Linked DNA regions of Homo sapiens: region 1 is linked to region 2. The links are contacts of gene promoters, found by promoter capture Hi-C in human tissues and cell types (Jung and others, 2019). All regions are on one chromosome and are shown on one strand. The core of a region is centred on a gene start or on the middle of the fragment in contact, and the rest is flanking DNA. Distances in the headings are between cores, read along the strand shown.

What was found. The method cuts DNA at HindIII sites, captures the fragments that hold promoters and counts their contacts. A contact is called where the count stands out against the background at its distance.
Region 1: a contact is called between a fragment that was not itself captured here and the fragment with the promoter of PRR18 in region 2, in 2 of the 25 tissues and cell types used here (hippocampus and neural progenitor cells).

Annotation. Positions count from the first base shown.
Region 1 is chr6:166,366,591-166,373,296 of GRCh38, forward strand. MPC1 (mitochondrial pyruvate carrier 1) reads right to left here. Exons shown (of 5, transcript NM_016098.4): 2 at 3,628-3,631; 3 at 205-301. Among named protein-coding and RNA genes, the nearest start is that of MPC1, 13 kb to the right of the region's middle. The HindIII fragment of the contact is 7,670 bases long and covers 1-6,221 here.
Region 2 is chr6:166,305,495-166,312,004 of GRCh38, forward strand. PRR18 (proline rich 18) reads right to left here and starts at 2,898. Exons shown (of 1, transcript NM_175922.4): 1 at 1-2,898. The coding sequence starts at 2,648. The coding sequence ends at 1,761. It overlaps LOC107986669 (a long non-coding RNA gene), which reads left to right and starts at 2,054. Exons shown (of 3, transcript XR_001744464.2): 1 at 2,054-2,229; 2 at 4,228-4,323. RefSeq lists a silencer at 2,381-2,980 and an enhancer at 3,051-3,330. The HindIII fragment of the contact is 9,550 bases long and covers 1-5,402 here.

The DNA of each region.
Region 1 (6,706 bases), core at 1,137-3,636, 61 kb after region 2:
ATAAGATGTTACTACTTCCTAGATAAATATTTCTAATTAATCTTGTTTCTTACTGACATAGAGAAGTAACACTCTTCCATGCCATCACATTCTGTATGTGACTTTCTAATAGTGACTGTAACATCTAGTGCTACAATCTTGAAATGCAAGCAGGAGCTCTACTATGTTGAAAGTCCTCCCAATTATCCAAATCTGCATTCTTACCAAATGTCATCCGCCCACTGATAATCTCTGGAGACTTTTTCATATCATTGATGGCAGCAATGGGAAGACCCCAGTTGGCTACTGGGCCCCAGAAGTGCTACAAAAAATGAGAGGAAAAGAATGAAGAGAGGAAAAAGTTAAGACAGAACTATAAACAGCTGAAATTTCCCTTACTTTAAATAATCACGTGAAACTCGTGAGAACAAATCTTCGTTTCCATCTTGCAGGTTTACTGGGTTAATTGATGGTTAACATTTAGGTATTGGATTGTCCAAGTGTTCCTGTAGGAATCAGCAGTTCTTACAGCTGAGCCCAGAGCTAGAAAGGGTTTGGCAGCTTCCCAAGGTCCCTACTGGTTTCCACACTACAACCAAGTCATCTCTGATTGTCCTATTTAGAACATTTAAAAATAAAAATAAGATTCACTTCTTACACAATCCATTGTTGCTATAATTCAAACCCTGTTAGAACTATTCTCCATATTTTTATGTTTAAATCTATCCACACTCCTTTTCCCAAATTTTTATGAAGATATTTGTTAATAATTCTTAAAATGCAGACCCTAAATTGGGTACTTTTCTGAAGAAAGAAGCTTAATAAGAGAATAAATTGTTTTTCAGCTCATATGAGCTATTCTAAGATAAAATAACTTGGAAATCAATGCCCAGGACCCCAGACACTAAGAAATTAAGATTGGAAAGTACTTTTGACATAATAGCAAAAACTTATATTAATATTAAAGAAATGAACCAATAGTTTTTCATTCCACAACTACACTCATCCAAGGATACCAAAGTGAAGTCGTCTGTGTTTGACAGCAGCCACAATCAATTTAATTTTAGAGGCTGAAATAAAATAAGGCTTGTGGCTTTTGTTCATTAAAGATGAAAAATTGTTTCATTAATTTAGAATTTGGAAATAATATTTTCAAATCTGAAAGGAACCACATCTTGTTGGCTAAACACCCCTTTTAGTTATCCTAACACTAAAGAGTAAAAACAGTCTTTGCTTGACTTCTGCCTATCATAATGTTTAGGTTAAATTCAGACTTTGCTTCTACTATTGACGAGGGGTTAAAATCCAAAGATTCCCTAAAAAGTGGTAAACCAAGGGAAATATAAGAAAAATAAATGGGAATTAGATTTGGCATAATAGAATATTTAAAAATGTTTATTTAACATGAAAGCCACAAGGTCATTTAGATAACTACAAAAGGTCAAAGTTCCCACATAGCCATCACCATAAGTATTTCAGGGTTTAACATGTGAGTTATAAACTCTGTAAATTAGGCACAGTTGGTTTAAAGAATCTTGAGATTCTGGGCTGGCTAATTAGTTATCTTGCATTCAGACTGCATGTTATCTAAGATACTCACTACTGCAACTTTCACTTAATTTCTTACATTTAGACGAGGTGACTAGTGGCTCTCAAATTGGACAGCAAGGCTTTGGAGGAAATATTTCTTTGAAAATGACAAGTTGGGTCGGGTGCAGCGGCTCACGCCTGTAATCCCAGCACTTTCGGAGGCTGAGGCGGGTGGATCACGAGGTCAGGAGTTTAAGACTAGCCTGGCCAACATGGTAAAACCCTGTCTCTACTAAAAATATAAAAATTAGCCAGCGTGGTGGCAGGTGACTGTAATCCCAGCTACTTGGGAGGCTGAGGCAGAGAACTGCTTGAACCCGGGAGGTGAAGGTTGCAGTGAGCCAAGATTGCACCACTGCACTCCAGCCTGGGTGACAGAGCGAGACTCCGTCTCAGGGAAAAAAAAAAAAAAAAAAAGAAAATGACAAGTTGGAGAGAAGTACACTCCTGCAGAATTCTATTAACAATGACCCTTAATTTCTTACATTTAGATGCAATATGGCCAGTTTTCTTTTTTCCTTATTCCCCAGACTTTTGTAAGGGAGAGTATCTATCTCTCCCTTACCTACTTACTTCTTTTCTTACCCGTCCTGTTATTGGGTGTCACTTCATTTTTCAACTCTCTATTATTCCATAGTGATCTTCCTTTTCCTCCTTTTTTGACCAGGCCTTTCTCCACTTGGTCTATTTTCATCTCCTTTTCCGTTTACTCTCTTGCCACTCCTCTGCACTGTATGGTGGTGTTGCTGTCTACTTTATCATGCATGAACCCAGGGCTATAAACAGAGCCTGAAGAGTTATTCTAAGAGGGGCATATAAACCACAGTTTCTCTACCACTGGTTGTGAATGTGTCTTCTTTCATAGGTGGGGCTAAAGCAGAAATGGACAATGGAATAAATCTAAACCTAAAGTAGCCTTGGGAGATTCCTGGCTAAGTGATGTTATTAAAAGTTTAAGTATGGGCCGGGCATGGTGGCTCACACCTGTAATCCCAGTACTTTGGGAGGCTGAGGCAGGCGGATCATGAGGTCAGGAGTTTGAGACCAGCCTGACCAACATGGTGAAACCCCGTCTCTACTAAAAATACACAAATTAGCTGGGTGTGGTGGCTTGCACCTGAAATCCCAGCTACTAGGGAGGTTGAGGCAGGAGAATCGCTTGAACACGTGAGGCAGAGGTTGTAGTGAGCCAAGATAGTGCTACTGCACTCTTGCCTGGGCAACAGAGCAAGACTCCATCTCAAAAAAGAAAAAAAATTAAAAAAATAAAAAGTTTAAGTGTGATGAGTGTTAGGTTATAGGAAACAGTTCTGCAAGTTAAGAACTATACATACACTTATGACTGTAAGTGTTGAGCTATACTGAAAATATGTTTCTTAAGAAGAACACGAAAGGTAAAAATCATTTTAACACTAGTTTACTAAAATACCTAACCTTAGAAAGTTTATAATGCATCTTTTCTATCTAGTACAATATTCTAGTTCTCTCTTCCCTTTTTTAGAATACAATTGATTTATGCTGTCAGATATTCAGCAGTCAATTTTGAGAAAAATAAGGAACTTTATTAAAATTCAAAAAGAAATTAACATATGTTGGATTAAATGGAAAACATTTTACTTGATTATAATTCTTAATTGTGCTGAAAAGAAAGTTCCAACAGAATTATACAACACCATCTCCTGTGTGAAAATCAAGCCATGGAAATGAACTCCACCCTACAGGAAAAAATCATCCCACCCTTCTTTTCCTGCTTTCTCTTTTTCTTTCTCTATTTCCTTTCATCGGTTGCTAGGCTCCACTGTGACTGTTATCAATGAAGTAATTATATGCTTGTTTCTAAAAACAGGAGTAGGGAGCAGCCCCAGGAGCATGGCTGTCACAGAGCTCGTGTCTAGGCTCCCCAGGACAGGCCAGGGTGCAGTAGGCACCCTTCACAACCTGCCAGCCATGGCGGCTAGAAAGGCTCTCATATGCAAAGGATGCTAAGCCTGTTACCCCTAACTCTGTTAATGCAGAAAGTCTGCAAAAGCCTGAAATGGATGGAAATAATTTTCTTACCGTACTATTTTGTGAAGAGTCACCGAAGTTCAGACAGGACAGACATGGAAAAAAAAGAAACAAAAATCAAATGATTTTGGTCTTATTAGGTTACTGCAACCTCACACCTGTATTCAAATTTCAGTAACAGGACTACAACGTTAACAGTGTACATTCTTTTATTATTTTTAAAAGATCAAGTAATATTATTTCTAATAAGAACTTTGACTTCATGAAATTAGATCTTAGTTTTATGGAAAATAAGTGCAATCCTTAGAGCAGAACTGTCCAATAGAAATATAATGCAAGGCAGAAATACAAGCCACGTACGTAATTTACAACTTCTAGAAGCCACATTAAGAAAACTAAAAAGAAGGCCGGGGACAGTGGCTTATGCCTGTAATCCCAGCACTCTGGGAGGCTAAGGCAGGAGGATTGCTTGAGGCCAGGAATTCACTATTAATCTGGGCAACATAGTGAGACCCCATCTATACACAAATATATTTTAAAAATTAGCTGGGCATGGGTGGTTTGTGCCTCCAGAGGATTGTTTGAGCCCAGGAGTTCAAGTCTGCAGTGAGGTATGATCACACCACTGTACTCCAGCCTGGGCAACAGAGCAAGACCCTGTCTGGAAAAAAAAAGGAAAAGAAAAGTAGAAAAGTAAAAAGAAACCACAGAAATTACTTGTATTAATATTTATTTAATCCATATGTATGCAAAAAACATTTTAATTTCAAAATGTAATCAATAAAAACTATTCATTAGACCTTTTACATGCTTTTTCATACAATTATTTGGACTCTAGTGTGTATTTTACACTTACGGCACATCTCAGCTTGAACTAGTCACATTTCAGGTGATCAGTAGCCACCTGTGGCTAGTGGCTCTCAAATTGGACAGCACAGCTTTCGAGGAAATATTTCCTTAAAAGTGGTAAGTTGGAGAGATGCATACTGTTGCAGAATTCTATTAACAATGAAACTTTCCCTTCTGCTTACTAACACATTGCACCAGAATGTGAACCCCTGGAGGGATGTATTTTTGTTACTACTGGACTACTTAAAGTAGGGCCTGGCATTTAAACTGGAATTTAAAAAATATTTATTGAATGAATGAATGAATAGTAAAAATGTCAATGCTGTTTTCCAGAATGTTAAATTTAAAAATACACCAAAAACTTATATTGAGTTACTTTTATTTCTGAAATAACAATTTCTCTTGCCAGGATATACCTGAGCTCTTCTCTTAGGGCAAAATCTCAAAGTTGAGCTACTGAAAGAGTTATTGAAATAAAATAATAAAATTGAGCAGTACGGCAGGGGGAAAAATGAAATAATAAAATCCTTTATAAACAGACTCAAGTCCAAAGAATTCTACTAGTTGTTTTGTTTTAGAGAGCACAGAGATTATAATTTGTAACATGAAAATAATTGTTGATGGTGCTAATAATACAGTAGTCCCCCTTATCCTCAGGGGATGCATTCTAAGACCTCCAGTGGATGCTTGAAACCGTGGATAATACGGAACCCTATATATACTATGTTTTTCTCCTATACATACATACCTATGATAATGTTTAATTTATAAATTAGGCAGAGTAAGAGATTGACAACAATTACTAATAATAAAATAGAATAATTATGACAATGAACTGATATAAAAATTTTGAGAATGTGGTTACTCTCTCTTTCACAATACTGTAATATTTTTTTGGACCACAAATGGCCCTGAGTGACTGAATCCATAGAAGGAGAAACTGCAGATGAGGGGGTACTACTATGTGCTTCAGATAGGTTATATTATGAAATATATATCATTCATATATATACAAATATAATTATCCAAATTATATTTCACAGCAAGTACAAACTGACCACAATGCTTTATAGCAGAGAGATTGATAACCTTACCAGATGAGACAGCATAATCTAGCTAGAACAGTCAGTCACCTACGGCATTGCTCTCCTTCAAATACCTTTGTCAGTATCTGAACACTGGCCCTTTAGGTAACTATGAATAACCAAGGGCACATTTTTTCCCTATAAAAATATTTTAAAGGATGTCGTACTTACAATGTGAAGTTTCAACTTGGACATAACTTAGTTTTTCCTTTAGGACTCTCTCCTTAAATCATACAACAGCTTGATTATACCCTATTTTACAACAGATTACAAATGTATGAGAATAAGGGAGATTATAAATGTATGAGAATAAGGGAGAATTACAAATGTATGAGAATAAGGATTAGTATAGATTACACATGTATGAGAATAAGGGAGAATTAACTTCTGCCTTCATACCCTGCTCAGTTCAAAAGTCCTACATGAATATAATCACATTAATTACTGTAAAACAATCTGAGAGTAAAGTCAGTTTAAATATGTCTGTTAAATACAAAACACTACAACTCAACATCCCTCAATTCTAAGTCAGGGTTTTCTAGAATGCATGAATCAACAACTCAATCAAAATATCTGAAAAGCATATTTGTGCAGAACCAAATTAGAAAAAAAAATGCTTCCAAATATGTATTATTACCTGTTTCAAAAAAAAAAGGGGAGATAAATTTATAAGCCACATATAAACTGCAATTTGGGGACAGTAATGCAAAACCATTTAGAAAATATTCTTGATTTTCTCTTTATTTGGTATGCTGCCTTTATTTTCAGTAAAAAAGCAAACAAACACAAAACTCATAGACTTTCTTGGGTTCACTTATGATTTTGAATTCTCATGGAGGAGAAACTATATTTCCAGTTAAAAATTAAGTATTCTGTTTTTTTAAAAAATAAACTTAATTTTTCAGAAAAGTTTTAGGTTCACAGTAAAATTGAACCAAAGTACAGAAACCTTCCATATACACCCAGCCCCGAAACATGCACGCACTCTCCCATTATCTACATCCCCCGCCCATGGTGTATTTATCACAATCACGAAACTTACATTGACACAGGATTGTTACCCAAAGTCCATATCTACATTAAGGTTCCCTGTTAGTGCTGTACATCGTGTGGGTTTAGATGAACATACGATGCCACGCGTCCATCATCATAGTGTCTTACAGTAGTTTCACTCTCTAAAAATCCTCTGTGCCCCA
Region 2 (6,510 bases), core at 1,648-4,147:
CAAGGCCCACAAACTCTATTTAATAAATACAAATTACTAAAAATGCGCTTAGTGTTGTATTGTGGCCAGTTAAGAACAGGAGATGCTGGGACAGAGCCTACAGAAAGGGCGGGAGAAGAAAGGAAATCAAAATGAAGCAGCTGACAGGGACGTCAGGGAGACACACAGGTGCAGTGACAGCCACACTGCAGCAGAAGCTCAGCTTGGAAGACAGAGGCTGCAGAAAGTCGGTCCCTCTAGGATGCCACCAGGGAAAAGTCTTCAAAATGTTGTTGTTACTGTGACCAAGGGCAGAAGTCTAGGCATCTTAATTATTGGTATTTGCACTAAGTGCAAGACGAGACCAAGTTGAGCCACTCCTGCCCTCGGCTCGGAGTCAGTGCACTCTTGCTCCACCCTCTCAGCTCCAGACCGTGTGCCCTGCCCAGGACGGCGCACTCAGAGACCATCTGGGTGGGGGTGGAACAAGAGCAGCACCGTCACTTGCATAAGCATTGCTAGTTTTGCCCCTCTAGAATTAATATATTCATTTTAAGTAAAAGAAAACTTATCTCCAAATTCAAAGAAGTTATTCAATGGGTAGGTTTTTTTCTGTTTTTGCAACTCATCTGGCAGCTGACCTAGCTCCCAATGAATTAAATGCTTCACATCTAACTAAATGTGTGCCTAGAATTAGAGAGAGAGAGAGAGAGAGACAGTGTGTGTGTGTTATTAGAGCAAAGACCTCCACAAGAAAAATACAAAATCTGTTTTAAAAATGTAAGGCTTCAATTTAAAATACAATTAAGACTTGATACATTTAAAGTCTATCAAGATAAACATTAAACCAGTTATTGGCTTTTACAAAGTCAGTCAAAAATTGAGGTAATACATTACTCTTTTATAACCAGCCTTATCTGATTATAACATTTTATTTCCTTCTCATCCTTCTAGTTAGATATTCTCAGATACATGGAAGAAATATGTAGAAATCAGCCTCCAGTTAGCGGGGGAAAGGATATGGTTACGAAACAGCGGAGGAGCTTTACTCTCTATTCAAATAATACACAGAAAAAATGTAATCAGCCGAGCGGTTTCCATGGAAGCGCTCATTGACCAGGGCTCACCAGCGCCTGGCGATGCCTACCCTTCCGCTTTGGAGACTGGAAATTCGGTTAACTGAGTTTCAGGGATGTCTAATACCCTCAACATTTTTCTGACTTGGGAGAAAACAAAATCACGAATGTAGGACCGGGTCCCAGCTCTGCAGGAGGCCACCGTCGCGGCCACCCACCTGGGCCATCGCCCACCGCACTGTCCAGGGTGCCCGGCGCCGGCTGAGGGTGACACCACGGGGCGTGCAGATGTAGCCCTGGGGAAGGCCCGCCTCCAGGCAGAGGGTCTCTGGGACCTAGACGAACCCTGGGGGTCGGGGCACCAAGAGGCATTTTCTCAGTTGCTTAATTCCCCACGAACTGCATGGATGCTCGGCGATGCCAAGAGGAGGCCAGAGTGGGGGCAGAGGCAGGCATCTGGGGTAGATACCACCGGTGTGAACGAGAAAGGCCCGGGCTGCCGGCTGGCGAGGGCAGGAGGGGGGCCGTGGCCGTCGGGCGAGTCTGGCTGCGCCCCACGTGGGCCAGCTTGCGCACTGGTGTCCCGAAAGTGGGCGCTGGCGGCCAGAGGAGCCTGCGGTCTCCCCCGAGGGCCCCTAGGCGGAGTGGCGCGTGCAGGAAGTGAGGTGGGATCAGGCCTGGCCTGTCCCCGCAGGCCCGCTGGGCTCACAGCGTGCTCAGGTGCCGCCGTGAGTCCAGGGCCCCCGCCCGGCCCCGCGCGGCAGCCGCGGACTCCACGCCGCGCAGCCACTCCGTGCACTTGCGTACCAGGCCCTCGTCCACCGCCTCTGGCTCCTCCTCGTACTCCACGTCGTCGTACCTGTGCCGCTCGTTGAGCAGCGACACCTTGAGCATCGGCCGCAGGGCCCCGGGCCGCGGGCTGAGCTGGGGAACCTGCAGGCCGCCGTGCAGCAGCTGGGCGCCGGGCGGAGGCGCGCGGCGGCCCTGGCCGGCGGTGGGGGGTGCGTCGGGGTCGCTGGCGGGGCCGCCCCTCCGCGGGCCCGCGGCCCTAGCCGGGAGACACGGGGCGAGTAGGCGCCTGGGTTCGGCCGAGGGTGAGGGGAAGGGCCTGCGGGGCCGCGCCAGCAGCTGCTTCTCCAGATGACGCTTCTGGATGACCAGGACGGCCTCGGGGGTGAGATTCAGGCAGAAGCGCGCAGCGGAGTCTGGACAAGGCCCCGCCCCCGAGGAGGTGCCCGCGGCGGTGGTCCCCGTCCCCGCCGAGGTCGCCGCATAGGTGGTCCTCGCTGGGCTGTGGCCGGAGCCTGCCGGCCGGGGCGGGGCGCACGTGGCTGGGGCCCGCGCGCGGCTGGGCAAGGCCTGGGGGGAGACGCCCGGAGGGGCCGGCGGCTGCGTCCTGTCCAGGCCGGGGCCGCGCCGGGCCGGCGGCCTCTTGAGCGTGGCGGAGGGCCAGGAGCTGGAGAGGAGCCCCTCGGGCCGCTGTGGGGGCCTCTTCTTCTTGTCCCCCGCGGCGCAGGGCCTCCGGGGTAACTGGCGCGCGGCTTGGGCCCCCGGGGCGGGGGCGGGCGGCGGCGGCATGGGCGGGAAGGGCATAGTGCAGCCGAGCCGCCGGATCCTCAGCCCCTGGAAAGAGAGGCGGGCGCTCAGCCACTGTGCGCGGAGCGGGTCCCCGCAGTCCGGGCGGCCCCTCCACACCCACCTGCGTCCAGCCGCGGCCTCTCCGGCTTCCTCACATCCCAGCGACCAAACCCGGGGACTCAAAGAGAGGCGCTCCCACCCTCCCCTCCTCCTGGGGGTGCTCCCGGGACTGGACCCTGCAGGAACCGCCTCCCGCCGTCCGACTGTGGGCGAGTCGCGGCGCCCCCGGGTCCCCACAGCTGAGACGCGGGCCGGGCCGGCAGGAGGAGGAGCCCAGCGCGCTCGCTAAGGACGCGGCCCTGCCAGGCCCCGGGCTGTGCCCGGCTGGTGTCACGACCGACTGTTGAATGGGAGCAAAGTGCCAGGACAGCGGAGGGCGGAGCGCGCGCCAGGCATCCCGGGGCTCCCCCAGCTGGCGCTCCGGTGGTCCGAGGTTAATGTAGTCCGTCGAAAGCCAGGAGCATTCCCCTGGGGGAGCCGGCAGCCTTCCGGAGTCACAGGTGGAGGCCCTGCACGTTTCAGAGAAAATCCCCTGTAGCCTCTCCGTGCCTTCGAGACGGCGGGAAAGGCACCGCCAGTAGATGCAGCTCTGCGGCCCCGGACACATCCTGCTTCACAGAGAAAAGCGGGCTGGAGCTGAGAGGGGAGAAATGACCCTCAGTGAATCTTACATAGTGTTCATGCCACCCCTTGAGGAGTCACTTTCAAATTCAAAACCTAAGTATCTATGAACAGGCAAAATAGTTCAGTTTCAGCTATATAATGCTGATTACATGGCAAATATTAGACATCAAGTCCCTTTAATAATTCTTATGAGCAAAGCAATATATTTATCACTGTAGCAGAGATTCAGAATTAATGAGATAAATCTTCACTGTCAATTTACATTCTAGTCGTAGACACATGAAGACATCCTACAATATTCAAATGTTTGTTTAATAAATAATTGAACAATTGCAAAGTGACGGATCAAAAAGTCAACATTTCATGTGTGCAGTCCCTGCATTACTTAAGGATAATCATCAGCTGCTTAGATCTCCACAAAGTACTTTCCATCAGATACACTTTTCTGATGGAAACCAGGTGTGTGATGGTTACGGCCCCAGGTTAGCTCCAGAGCACATTCAACTGTGGGTAAACACAAATGTGCCCTGTGCCAACAGTCACAGCAGGACAGCATGGCCCTCCCCCAGCCGCCTCAGTCTCCGAGGCAGCAGCAACGCCTCCCCTTGTTGACTGTTGGTGGCCTCAGAGAACTGCGCTGTGGATACATGGGAGCGTCAAGGAAACCTGGCAGGTGGTGGGAAACACTTCTCACCAGAGCTTGGGTTGGGGTGACAGGTTTGGGCCCTGTCATCTCTACCAGCACCTCCCAAGCCACCCCAATACAGCTCTGAAACAAGCCTCCCAGCTCACAGGCACTTTCCCTCCATCCCTGCCAGCCTGTCTCTGCCGGTGGGCTCAGGCTGTTAATCGGCTTGACAGGTGAGGTCCTAAGATACTGAAACCTCCTCCTCAATATGTTTTATTCCAGGTTTTAGAATCTCTGGATGGGTGTGGGAAGAGGCACGTCAGTGGCGGCAGGAGGCCCACAGTTCTGTGCCTGGAAAGTGGAGAACTGGAAGAGAAGGTGAGGCAGGAGAGGATGGGGGTGGGGCGGGGGGCGGTATCAAATATCATTTATGGGGGCACAGCTGGAGAGGCAGGCTATGGAGAAAAATCAGCAAACACTTGGACACTCAGACATCTGAGTTTGGAGCCCCGCAGTTCAAAAGCTGTGACGGTGCTGGTGGGGTCTTCTCTCCTTCCTGTCTCCTTACTCTTAGGATGCTTCAGAAGGAATGACAGTTTTGGGGTGAGAATGGGTTGGTGGCCTCATAGTAATGCTCCCGACTTCCACTGCTGTCTCCATTCTGCTGGGACACTGGTCGTACAGAGGCGAGGTAGCTACGCAACTGCCATCACACAGCTCTAACGGGACGGAGGAGATAAGACTCCACCCCAGGAGTGCGAGTCCAAGGCCAGATTGCAACTTTTACACTAAAGCTGAGAGGGAAAAAGTCTTGGTAGATCAGGGTGATTGGATTAAGTGACCTCTCACCCACAAACTAGTAGCGATTTGGGCCTTTTTAAGCCAAGAAAAGTGATAGTTTATCAGATTAATGCACGTGTCTGACCAGACAAGAACTGGGATTCTCCAAGCCCTCCCAGACGTCTCATACCAGCCCAGAAGCTTGGAGACATGGAAAGCTGTAAGTTTGTGTGACCCTTGAGAGGCAGAAAAGTACATTCTGAGTGTCCGCCACCTCATCACCAGGCCAGGTAGGAGGGGCAGTGCCTCTTCCCTGTCTCCCCAGAACCCTCAGAGCAAAGCATGCTCCTACGAGGGGTTCTGAGCTCTGGGTTCTCATGGCGGGTTGCTGCCCCAGGAGTACGGAGGAGTTAGCATTGCCGACGGACTATCCCCTCTTCAGACTCTGATAAAAGCACCCAAATGACAGCATCGCTTGTCCCCTGCCCAGCTACTTCTGCTACTTGAAACCTTCAGCTCCTTGTAAATTAGAAGTTAGAAAGATTGGCTTGGGCCTGAAACAGAATGCGTGAAAGCAGCCTCTGTCGCTGGCCCTCACTGGTGCTGTGGCTGTTAAAGAATCCGTTACAAATACCCTTCGGCTGATGCAAGCAGCCAGCAGCAGTTCCCAGCAAGGAAAGCCACGCCAGAGAGATGGCTGCGTTTAACTTCAGGACAGCAGGTGTAACTGAAAAGCGGTTAAAGAAATATAGTAGCTGGGTACAGTAGTTCACGCCTGTAATCCCAGCACTTTGGGAGGCCAAGGCGGGTGGATCACCTGAGGTCATGAGTTCGAGAACAAGCCTGACCAACATGGTGAAACCCTGTCTCTACTAAAGACACAAAAATTAGCTGGGAGTGGTGGCACGCGCTTGTAATCTCAGTTACTCAGGAGGCTGAGGCAGGAGAATCACTTGAATCCGGGAGGTGGAGGTTACAGTAAGCTGAGATCGTGCCATTGTACTCCAGCCTTGGCGACAGAGAAATACTCCATCTCAAAAAAATAAATAAATAAAAATAATGTAAAATTTAGCTTATAATTTACAAGGGATTTCTCATAGCTTGCCCAGAACACAATAATTATAACTATTCATATGTAATATTAAATAGTAAAGCTTGGGTACTAGAATACTGAGATCAGCTAATCTGTCTCAGAACTAGATTTTGGGGTTCACCTGAACAAGAGCTGATCTCTAAAATGCATGATTACATCTTATCTTGCATGATTACATCTTATCTAAATTTACTGTCTCAAATAAGTTGATTTAAAAGGTCAACTAACCAAAACCAAATACAGTTTACCCTTGAACACCATGGGTTTGAACTGCGAGGGTCCACTTACAGGAGGATTTTCCTCTGCCTCTGCCACTCCTGAGACAGCAAGACCAACCCCTCCGCTTCCTCCTCAGCCTACTCAAGGTAATGGTGATGAGGATGAAGACCTTCATGATGATCCACTTCAATACTTAAGAATAGTAAATGTATTTTCTCTTCTTCATGATTGTCTTAACATTTTCTTCAGCTCACTTTAAGAATACTGTATAATATATATAATACATATAACATAAAAAATATGGTGTTTTTTTTTTTGCTTTTGTTTTTGTTTTTTGAGACAGGGTCTCTGTTGCCCAGGCTGGAGGGCAGTGGTGCGATCTCGGCTCACTGCAAGCTCCGCCTCCCGGGTTCACACCATTCTCCTGCCTCAGCCTCCTGAGTAGCTGGGACTATAGGCGCCCACCACCACGC